2 separate regions of the Homo sapiens genome follow, and region 1 is linked to region 2. The links are contacts of gene promoters, found by promoter capture Hi-C in blood cells and fetal thymus (Javierre and others, 2016). All regions are on one chromosome and are shown on one strand. The core of a region is centred on a gene start or on the middle of the fragment in contact, and the rest is flanking DNA. Distances in the headings are between cores, read along the strand shown.

What was found. Contacts are between HindIII fragments. The CHiCAGO score rates a contact against its expected background, and 5 or more counts as called.
Region 1: a contact is called between a fragment that was not itself captured here and the fragment with the promoter of CMPK1 in region 2, in 1 of 17 cell types (neutrophils). The highest score is 5.5, in neutrophils.

The regions. Positions count from the first base shown.
Region 1 is chr1:45,689,944-45,695,529 of GRCh38, reverse strand. TMEM69 (transmembrane protein 69) reads right to left here. Exons shown (of 3, transcript NM_016486.4): 2 at 4,420-4,556; 3 at 1,094-2,326. The coding sequence starts at 4,461. The coding sequence ends at 1,625. It also overlaps a transcript of IPP not described here. Among named protein-coding and RNA genes, the nearest start is that of TMEM69, 4.6 kb to the right of the region's middle. The HindIII fragment of the contact is 2,872 bases long and covers 2,887-5,586 here.
Region 2 is chr1:47,332,473-47,337,920 of GRCh38, reverse strand. CMPK1 (cytidine/uridine monophosphate kinase 1) reads right to left here and starts at 4,131. Exons shown (of 6, transcript NM_016308.3): 1 at 3,805-4,131. The coding sequence starts at 3,975. RefSeq lists enhancers at 3,009-3,068, 2,585-3,388, 3,389-4,192 and a silencer at 3,579-4,218. The HindIII fragment of the contact is 8,075 bases long and covers 3,224-5,448 here.

The sequences.
Region 1 (5,586 bases), core at 3,073-5,572, 1.6 Mb after region 2:
AGTGATTAGAGACTACGTTTTCAAGTGAAAATCTAAGGTGTTGCTTTTGCTGTTTTAAGAAAGCTTCTGCACTGGGTGCAGTGGCTCACGCCTGCAATCCTAACACTTTGGGAGCCTAGGCAGGAGGATTGCTTGAGCTCAGTTCAAGACCAGCCTGGGCAACATAGGGAGACCCTGTCTCTACAAAAAATTAAAAAATTAGCTTGGCATAGTGGTGCACAACTGTAGTCCCAGCTACTCAGGAGGCTGAGGTGGGAGAATTGCTTGAGCCCAGGAGGTCGAGGCTGCAGTGAGCCATGACCACACCACTACACTCTGGCCTGAGCAAGAGTGAGACCCTGCGTTTAAACAAAACAAAACAAAAACAAAAACACACCAAAGCTAAAAGCTTCTCTGTGATTTAAAAGATGTAGAACTAGACCAGCCTGTCCAACATGGTGAAATGCCACCTCTACTAAAAATACACACCAAAAAATTAGTTGGGCATGGTGGCACGTGCCTATAATCCCAGCTACTCTAGAGATGCTGAGGCAGGAGAATCGCTTGAACTCGGGAGGTGGAGGTTGCGGTGAGCCAAGATCGTGCCACTGCACTCCAGCCTAGGCGACAGAATGAAACTCCATCTCAAAAAAAAAGATGTAGAACTAGATAGGCCTGCTCATTAGAATATCAAGATGGCTCCAGCTTGACTTTTCTTTCCTAATTTATATGTACTAGTGGCTTTATTTTAAATAGTTTCCTTTGAAAATAATCATTTTGACCAGCTATTATGTGTTTGGTGGTAAGGGACAAGTTGTTATCTGTACCATGCCAAATATCCTAATAAAAACTGGAAAACATGTCCAACTTACCTTTGAATGTGGCTTTCCCTCATGACACTGCTCCCTACTGACTTTAGAGCCATAGATCCTTTTAGCTCATATAATTGGGTTATACCATGTGAAATAAGTTTGGACATGCCTTTCCCAGTGGTAACTCCTGTGAAAACTCAATGGAACTACCTTTTCTTTTCAGATACTCACAGATACGAGGTTTTCCGCTTGAAGTGGGAGAATATGTGCATTCTTTTCAATGATCACAAGACTCTAACAAAGGGGATTTTTAATCTTTAATTTTCAAGATGGTTAAAATATTGAAATGTTTAAGTGGATAACTATATTATTCATAAAATGACTGAGTGAAAACTAATATACTATGAGATGAAAAGTACTTGTCAGGGATTTTCAAGCTTTTGCTCAAGTAATTACCATGAAGTAACAATTTCTAGAAATGAAGAACAATCTGTGAAGATAAATTACCATTGGTGTGGGGAAAAAAAGCCAAACAGAAGTAGAAAAAGGTGTAGCTGGCATACAAATGTTATCTACAGTGTATTTATATATATATATTTTTAAAACTTTTAACTAAAAAGTAAACTTTAATGTCGAAAATGCAAACTTGGGGAAGACAGAAAAGATCACACACAAGGCTGTCACTTCACACGTGGAAGGTTGCACAGCGGCCGGGCAGAGGCGCTTGTCACACTTCCCAGATGGTCAGGCGGCCAGGCAGAGGCGCTCCTCACTTCCCAGACGGGGCAGCAGCTGGGCAGAGGTGCTCCTCACTTCCCAGACTTTTATATTTTTTATACTTGACCAGGTCTCTTATGTCCTTTTTCTGGAAAACTACTTTTAACTACTAAAGTGATTATAAATGAAAAAGTGGCCAATAAAGTGACTACTATCCTCAGGGCTTTAAACCAGTTGGGATAATGTGGTAAGAGAAAAAGTTCAAGGTGGAATGCTACTCCCATACCCATTATTACTGTGACTATGGCTTCACTAAGTCTTTCAGAAATAAGGAAGGCAAACCATGAAAAGAAAAGAGGAGCTGCACTGCTAGCTAAATTAAGGTAGTCTGGTTTGGCTGGACTACCTTCTGGTAGAGCAAAACCCCATCTGATCCCACCCAAGAAAGATAGGAAACTGGCTCCATAAGCCATCTGAGTAAAAGCTAATATGGGAATATAAGTTTTTGTCATCAGCATGACCAGTGGTGGAGCAACGAAGGGGATTAGTCCTGCCAGAGTTACACATAATGCTGGCTTTGGGCTGTCAGTTAGGTAAGTGATGGTGCTTGAGGGTCTGGCTAGAAGTGCTTGCTTCTGCTGCTTTTTAAAGCTGCAGGGGGATGTATGATAGCACTGTGTCTTGCTCATATACGCTGGAAATGATGAGGAAAGCCAAGGCCTTGGACATGGGGAAAAGTTTTGCTGGAGAGACATCTTGAGAGAAAGTATATCTGTTCTGCTGGTTCTTAGTCCCACTGGGAAAGAGTACTTCAGTATCTACAAAGAAAATAGAACCAAAAGACAAAATTAAAAATATATATATGTATCATCAGATTTTAGTCAATCCCAGTATGAAATAATGGGGATTGTTTGAAAGGAGCAAACAAAAAAGATCTGCTTTCCATTACCACATCAAACTATACAGAAAGGATGAACTAATAACTCTGAAGTGATATTATTGCTGGTAAGAGTATTAAATGGCTATACAATGTACAAAAGAAACCACTGAACACAAACTAGTGATATATTTCAACCTACCACTTAATCTTATTCCATGAGAAAAATATCTGAAAGAGGAGCAGGTAAAGACTAGATCTTCAGAATTTGGCCTTCTAAACTGCCTCTTTTATTTATAAATAGCAAAAGCAGCAGCACTAATTACCGTGGGAATGCTGTTTTTATATGGAGAAAATAAATCTACCTTCCAACTTAGTTTTATGAACACCACATACTTTTCACAGTTCCACACCTTTGTGTATGCTCTGCCTAGAATTCTAGCTCTTACTACTTTCCTATCTAGGAAACTTACCTCAACATTCAAAATTCAACTTAAAGCTTTCCTTTACCCTTCTACGGTCTGATTTAATGCTCCTATAGTAAGCACCCTGTGCACACTTCCATCATAATTCTTCTCACAGTGAATTAAAATTGTGTGTTTACTTGTCTTTGTCTCAGTAGACTTGAGAGCCAGGACCGTATTTTTTTCCTTGCCTTAAAATCCCCACTGCCTTTCATTGTACACGGGCAAAGTAATAACCTTTCCTGCTGATTCTGTGTTTTAGTGACCAGACTTCAACTAAAAAGTGTTGCATTAAAGAAAAAATTGAAGTTATTGAAGAATCTCAGTGATTACTCAAACATGCTAGGAATGGTTCCATCTTGGAACCATTTCCCTGTTTCCATATTTACTGCTCTTCCCTCAGTTACCTACTTCCGATCCCCTGCCATTTGTAAGTCCAATCCTACGTCTTGACACTACCTATTGCCCTTCCCTGCTTTATAGTTCTCCACAGCATTTACCAGTTGATGTATTAATTTTTATTTTTATTTTTTTGAGACCGAGTTTTGCTCTATCACCCAGGCTGGAGTGCAGTGGTACAATCTCTGCTCACTGCAACCTCTGCCTCCCAGGTTCAAGCGATTCTCTGCCTCAGCCTCCTGAGTAGCTGGGATTACAGGCGTCCGCCACCATGCCCAGCTAATTTTTGTATTTTTAGTAGAGACAGGGTTTCACCATGTTGTCCAGGCTGGTCTCGAACTCCTGACCTCACGTGATCTGCCCGCCTTGGCATCCCAAAGTTTTGGGATTACAGGAGTGAGTGACCGTGCCTGGCCTTATTTTTTTTAATTTTTACTTTTTGAGATGAATTATTCCTCTGTCACCCAAGCCAGAGTGCAGTGGCACAATCTCGGCTCACTGCAACCTTTGCTTCCTGGGTTCAAGTGATTCTTCTGCCTCAGCCCCCCAGGTAGCTGGGACTACGGGCGCCTACCACCATGCTGAGCTAATTTTTGTATTTTTCCGTGGAGACAAGGGTTTTACCATGTTGGCCAGGCAGGTACTGAACTCCTGACCTCAAGTGATCCACCTGCCTCAACTCCCAAAGTGCTGGGATTTCAGCCGTAAGCCACGGCACCTAGCCAATTTTTTTTTTTTTTAAACATCGTCTTGCTGTGTCACCCAGGCTGCAGTGCAGTGGCATGATCTCAGCTCACTGCAGCCTCAACCTCCTGGGCTCAAGCGATCCTCCTCTCTCAGCCTCCCAGGTAGCTGGGGCTATAGGCGTGTGACCCCATGCCCAGCTAATTTTTTGTAGAGATGGGGTTTTGCCATGTGCCCAGACTGGTCTTGAACTCCTTGAGCTCAAGTGATCCCACCCACCTCGGCCTGCCAAATTGCTGGGACTACAGGCGTGAGCCACTGCACCCAGCCTGATATAATAAACATTTTACTTACTTGTATTTTACTTAACTCTTCCCTCCATCACCTGAATATACAAGGGTAAGGATTTTTGTCTTTTTCACTGCTACTGACCTAGCCCAAGCAATATTTGGCAAATAGTGCTCAAATATCTGCTGAACAAACCAACCTTTGAAGATGCTTGAGAAAACTTCTGGATGAAGCGAAGCATACTGGCCCCTATTGAAAGTCTTGTTCAGGAAGATGCCAGGTAGTTCTGATTAACATGTTACAGCTAAGCAGAGGCACTGAATCAGGGGCATGTTTCTGTGTATAACACAAGGTGTCACTTAATTTTCCTCATTTTATACATTAATTTTTAAATAGTAGTAATTCATGAATATAACACTTTCCTTTGAAAAGAATCATTAATGTTTTCAAACTGTCGGTAACACAGTAACAAAATAGATCCTTTTAGTATCTGAACTGTTCTTTTAGCTTTGGCTGTCTAGTGTAATAGAAAGAGTAATGCACATAGAGATTTTACAGATACTTCCACCATTTCCTAGCTGTGTGACACTGGGCAAATTGCTTGAGTACTGGTTTTCTCATCTTTAAAATGAAGGGTCTTCTAAGTGGTGTTTTTGTGAAATTAAAAAAAAAACCAAAACAAAACTGGAAGGTCATAGCTTCTGTTTCCTTTTTTCCTCCTATTTTGGGGCTTAAGAGTTCACAACTCAAAATAACGATAGTACCAACCAATATAATTTAGGTTTTTTTAATTTGTTTGTTTGTTTTGAGACAAGAGTCTTGCTGTGTCGCCCAGGCTGGAGTGCAGTGGCGCGATCTTGGCTCACTGCATCATCTGCCTACCGGGTTCAAGCAATTCTTGTGCCTCAGCCTCCCAAGTAGCTGGGATTACAAGCTCCTGCCACCATGTCTGGCCAATTTTTGTATTTTCAGGAGAGATGGGGTTTCGCCATGTTGGCCAGGCTGGTCCTGAACTCCTGACCTCAGGTGATCCAACTGCCTAGGCCTCCCAAAGTGTTGGGATTACAGGCATGAGCCACCGCGCCCGGTGAGCATTAACTCATTTAATGCTCAAAATAACCTCATTAACTTAGTACTGAGAGAGAATAGCCTGTTGGAGTGCAGACTTTGGTGTCAAACTTGGTTGGAATCCTGGCTCCACTACTTATTAGCTGTGTGTCTTTGAACAAATTATTTAATCTTGTTATGGTGCAGTTCATTCACCTTTGAAATATGGATACTAATTCATAGGGTTGATGTAACATTTTTTTTTTTGGATACAGGGTCTCGCTCTGTCACCCAATCTGGACTGCAGTGGCGTGCTCTC
Region 2 (5,448 bases), core at 2,882-5,381:
AGATATTCCAGGCCGGGCACAGTGGCTCACACCTGTAATCCCAGCACTTTGGGAGGCCAAGGTGGGTGGATCACGAGGTCAGGAGTTCGAGACCAGCCTGGCCAACATAGTGAAACCCCGTCTCTACTAAAAATACAAAAATTAGCCGGGCATGGTGGCGCGCACCTGTAGTCCAAGCTACTCGGGAGGCTGAGGCAGAGAATCGCTTGAATCCAGAAGATGGAGGCTGCAGCGAGCCAAGATTGCCCCACTGCACACCAGCCTGGCCGACAGCGTGACACTTCGTCTCAAAAAAAAAAAAAAAATAGATATTCCAGTGTCTGTCTAGCCAGCTAGGGAATAGCAATTGCTAAATTATAAACTATTTGGAATTAGTTGATTGACAGCTTAATAAAGTTTATGGCAACTAGACTCAAGAGAATACTTTTCATTAAAGAAGATAACAGTTTAAGGTCAAATAATTGTTGAAATCTTAATAATATAATACATTACAGAACATATCTCATCATGGAATCTTGTAACTGATAATTAACAAGTTTAAAATATTATTTGCCATTACTGAACAGAATAAAGAATAATTGCAGAATGTGTAGATTATTTCATTTATGTATTTATTTATTTATTTATTTTATTTTTTTGAGATGGAATCTCGCTATGTCACCCAGGCTGCACTGCAGTGGCGTGATCTTGGCTCACTGCAAGCTCCGCCTCCCCGGTTCATGCCATTCTCCTGCCTCAGCCTCCCAAGTAGCTGGGACTACAGGCGCCTGCCACCACGCCCGGCTAATTTTTGTATTTTTAGTAGAGATGGGGTTTCACCTTGTTAGCCAGGATGGTCTCAATCTCCTGACCTCGTGATCCACCCGCCTGGGCCTCCCAAACTGCTGGGATTACAGGCGTGAGCTACTGCGCCCAGCCCTGAATGTGTAGATTATTTTTTAACCAGTGTAGTAGTATGGGTATTATTAATTTAGGTACAGATATTTTAAAGGCATATTATGATTCAGAAACAGCATACTGTATTTAAATGCATTCAAATATAACACGCATAAAGTAATTTAAAAGAAAAATACTATTTTGCAATAAAAATAACCAGGCCAGGCATGGCGGCTCATGCCTGTAATGCCAACACTTTGAGAAGCCAAGGCAGTAAGATCCCTTGAGTCTGGGAGTTCGAGACCAGCCTGGGCAATATAGTGAGCCCTGGTTTCTACAAAAACCTGAAAAAAAGTTAGCAGAGAGTGGCAGTGCACACCTGTCATCCCAGCTACTTGGGAGACTGAGGTGAGAGGATGGCTTGAGCCCAGGAGGCAGAGGTTGGAGTGGGCCAAGATGGTACCACAGCACTCCAGCCTGGGTGACACAGAGAGACTCGATCTCAAAACAAACAACAACAACAAAACCCACCAATAAAAATAACCAATATAATAAGATCAGGAAGTTTAAAGTAGAGGTAATAAGATCAGAAGTTTAAAGTGGAGAAAAAAACTATCTGCATCTGTCTCTGTGTGCCAGATATTTTACCTCATTTAATATTCACAAATACCATACAAAACAGCCATTTCTATGTTTTCCCTTTTCACAGGGAACTAAAGGCAACAACATCTCTGGGCCTAGAGAAACAGTAAATGGCAGAGTCAGGGTTTGAACCTATATCTCTTTGACTCTAAAGTCTTTGCCCCTTCCCCCATCATGCTATTTAAGAAAGATCACATATACTAAACAAAAATTTGAAATCACTCCCACTTTTCACTTGCCATTTATTTATTTATTTATTTATTTCTGAGACGGAGTCTCGCTCTGTCGCCCAGGCTGGAGTGCAGCAGCCAGTCTCTTTACTTTTTAAAAGACAAGTGACAAGGCCAGGCACGGTGGCTCATGCCTATAATCCCAGCACTTTGGGAGGCTGAGGCGGGCAGATCACGAGGTCAAGAGTTCGAGATCAGCCTGGCCAACATGGTGAAACCCTGTCTCTACCAAAAATACAAAAATTAGCCAGGCGTGGTGGCGCACGCCTGTAATCCCAGCTATGCAGAGGCTGAGGCAGGAAAATCGCTTGAACCTGGGAGGCGGAGGTTGCAGTGTGCTGAGATCGCACCACCGCACTCCAGCCTGGTGACGGAGTGAGACTGTCACAAAAACAAAAACAAAAACAAAAAAACAACAAAAGAAAGAGAACCAACAAAAAAAAATTTTTTTAAGAGGATGTAAATGTTATGTATTTTTTTAGTTGGACTAGTTCCACTTTGACACCTAAAATGATTTTTTTTTTTTTTTTTTTTTTGAGACGGAGTTTCACTCTTTCGCCCAGGCTAGTGTGCAGTGGCGCGATATGGGCTCACCGCAACCTCCGCCTTCCGGTTTCAAGCGATTCTCCTGCCTCAGCCTTCGGAGTAGCTGGGATTACAGGCGCCCGCCACCACGCCAGGCTAATTTTTGTATTTTTAGTAAAGACAACGTTTCGCCATGTTAGCCAGGCTGGTCTCGAACTCCTGACCTCGTGATCCGCCAGCCTCGGCCTCCCAAAGTGCTGGGATTACAGGAGTGAGCCACAGCGCCTGGCAAAATGATCAATATTTATAAATACATCTGTCCAACACATAATGACTTGTTGAACTCATCTAACTTTCTCTGGATGCTATTTAGGGAATAAAATACAGGACAGGAGTTGATTGTTATGAACATATAAGGAGAGAAGCAAAAGCCCCATGCTAATATTGGCCATATCCTAGAAGAGGAGGAAATTATAAGTTCTAGGTCAAAAAAACTTTTGTTGGTTACAGGGTTTCAGAGTGATTTCACTAGAGGCCACCAATGGTCGCCTCTTCTGTTTCTAGATATCCTGTTTTCCTTCTTTCCCAAGCATTCCCCAGATTGTCCATGAAGCCTTTTTTTCCCACAGTGTCAATGCAGCTAACCAACCATACATCTAGCTCAAAAATTGTTAAAAGAATTGAACTGGTAACCTGTCTCAAAGCAAAAGAAAAAAAAGTAACAGCATTTTACATTTGGGAGGTGTTTTATATCCTGAGAAAATCTGGGTTCAGAGACTCTTTTTACTGTATTACAAGGGCTAACTGAGGCTGGGAGACAGGAAGTGACCGAGGGCCGAGCGTGAGTTGGCAGCAGGGCCAAAGGTTGAAGCTTGATCTCAGAACAGCACTCCCGGCTTTCCCCATCCCCGACCCGGGCCGAGCCTCAGGGCTGGCTCCGCCCTAAAGCTTGCGGGGACGGGGCTCGAGAGTGCCAGCGGCAGCCCACAGCACGCCTAAAATAACACCCCGCCCCACGGGCCTCCTTTCTAGAGTAAAGACACGTTCGGTGACAGTGCGGAGTTTAGGGAACCAGAGGGAAGGCGCGGAGAAGAAAAATAGGTCTCTCCTTCAGACAACTGTGGGCGCACACGGCCTCTAACCCAAATCCGCGCTCCTGCTGCCTTCACCTGCCACACGATCAGCGACACGCTAACCTCTGCGCGCTGGGGGACCCCCAAAGGTTGGCCTCCGGGATCCCTCTCCCAGCCCACTCTAGAGACGAATCTGGTCCCCAAAATGTAAGAAAAGAAGGGGCGCAGGAACAAAGCGACCTCAAGCGGTGGCCCCCAAGGCGGGCGGGCGCGGACTACAAGTCCCGGCACGCCGCGCGCCGGCGGCCCTCGGCCACTGCCACGCGGGCGGCGCGGTGGCCGCCGGGACTCGTAGTCTGCGGCTCGGCGACTCCGCGGGGCGCGGACTAGGGGCGGCGGGACAGGCCGGCCCGCATCCCGTCAAGCCCCAAGGAGCCCGCCTGCTGCCCGGGCCTCACCTCGACGATGCGGGCGCACTGGGTCCCCTTGCCGGCGCCGGGGCCGCCGAGGACGAACACGACCAGCGGCTTCATGAGACGTGGAGAGCAGAGGAGAATCGGCCGGCGGGTCTGCAGCAGGAAGCTAAGGCCCAGGACGTGGAGCAGCCCGCTGCGGCAGCGGCTCAGCATACACCGCGCCTCGGCCGGACGCTGAGGGAGCTGACAGCGGCCGGCGCGGCGCGGGGCGGGGCGGGGAGGCGGCGGGAGAAAGGGGCGGGCTGAGCCGGCGCCCGCCGCGGCCCCGCCGCCGTGGCTGCCCGGGCGTCCGCGGCCCTGTCGGAAGGGGAGGAGCTTCGCACGGCGGCGGCGTCTCGGCGACACTCGTGCGGTCCGCGCCAGCTTTCCTCCAACCCTTGGGTGGTTATTAGTGCTTTCTGACTGCAGATATTTTATCCTGCGCCCTCAAGTGTCTGGTGCTGAGCTGGAGGCTGGGACGTGATCCGCGGGAGAGCAAAACCTATTGTCTCTGCTCGCAATGAGTTTCCATTCCAGCCAGTGAGGTATGGGGAGGTAGCCAGTGTGAATGAGTAAACACCAGTACATACAAAAGGCAGTACGATTTTGAAGAAATAACAAGTAGGACATAAGATGGCCAGGGTCGCCAGAGAAGGCTTCAGAAGAGGTGACATTCAAGCCAAGACAAAAGGATAGAAAAGAGCGAAACCAGGCAAACACCAGGATAGAGTGTCCCACAGAGAAAAGCATGTGCAAAAAATCTAAGTTGGTTTGGCATGTTAAAGCAATTGAAGGAAGGCCTGGCTGGGCGCGGTGGCTCACGCCTGTAATCCCAGCATTTTGGGAGGCTGAGGCAGGAGGATGGCTTGAGCCCAGGAGTTCGAGACCAGCCTGGACAACATGACGAGACCCCGTCTCGACCAAAAATTTAAAAGCCGGGCACCGTGACCCGTGCCTGTGATCCCAGCTACTGGGATGTTCACTTGAGCCTAGGAGCCGTAATAGCACCACTGCACTCCTGCCTAGGTGACAATGAGACTGCTTCAAAAAAAAAAAAGGAAAAAAGGCCAGTGACAGTGAGACCAGGGCTGAGTCAAATGAGGGGAGAATGGAAGGTGAAAAGTTGAGAAAGTGAGGTCGGTGGCAGATCAGGACTTTTGATTATGGAAAGGAATTTGGGCTGTATTCTAACAGCAATGGAAGCCCTTTAACTCCGTTCGCCTGCCCCCTTCATTAGGGAAGAATCTTAAGGGAGAAGAAAAGGAGACGTTCAAGAACTGAGCCTTGGTGCATACAGGCCTTTAAAAGGCCTTCTGGCCAACGTTAAGAGCTCATTTGATATTTGAGGTAACGGATTCAAAATAATTGAAGATGTTTGGCCATTCAGGCACAGGCAGAGAAGGCAGCTTGTTGCATTTACTGAGGGTTGGGATTTTGCCTGGCAAGTACAACAGAGAGAGGGGGCCAAGTGATGAGAGTGTTTGGAAGAGAATGTTCATGATGCTGTGTGTAGAATCAAAACCATACAGGAAAGCAAATAATGGCACATGAAGCCTGGTAGTGGAGGGGTTGGAGGGTGGTGGGGAAAGGGACCAATGTCTTAGAGCATTGGCCCAAGAAAGATTGCAGTGGGGTATATGAGCAAGT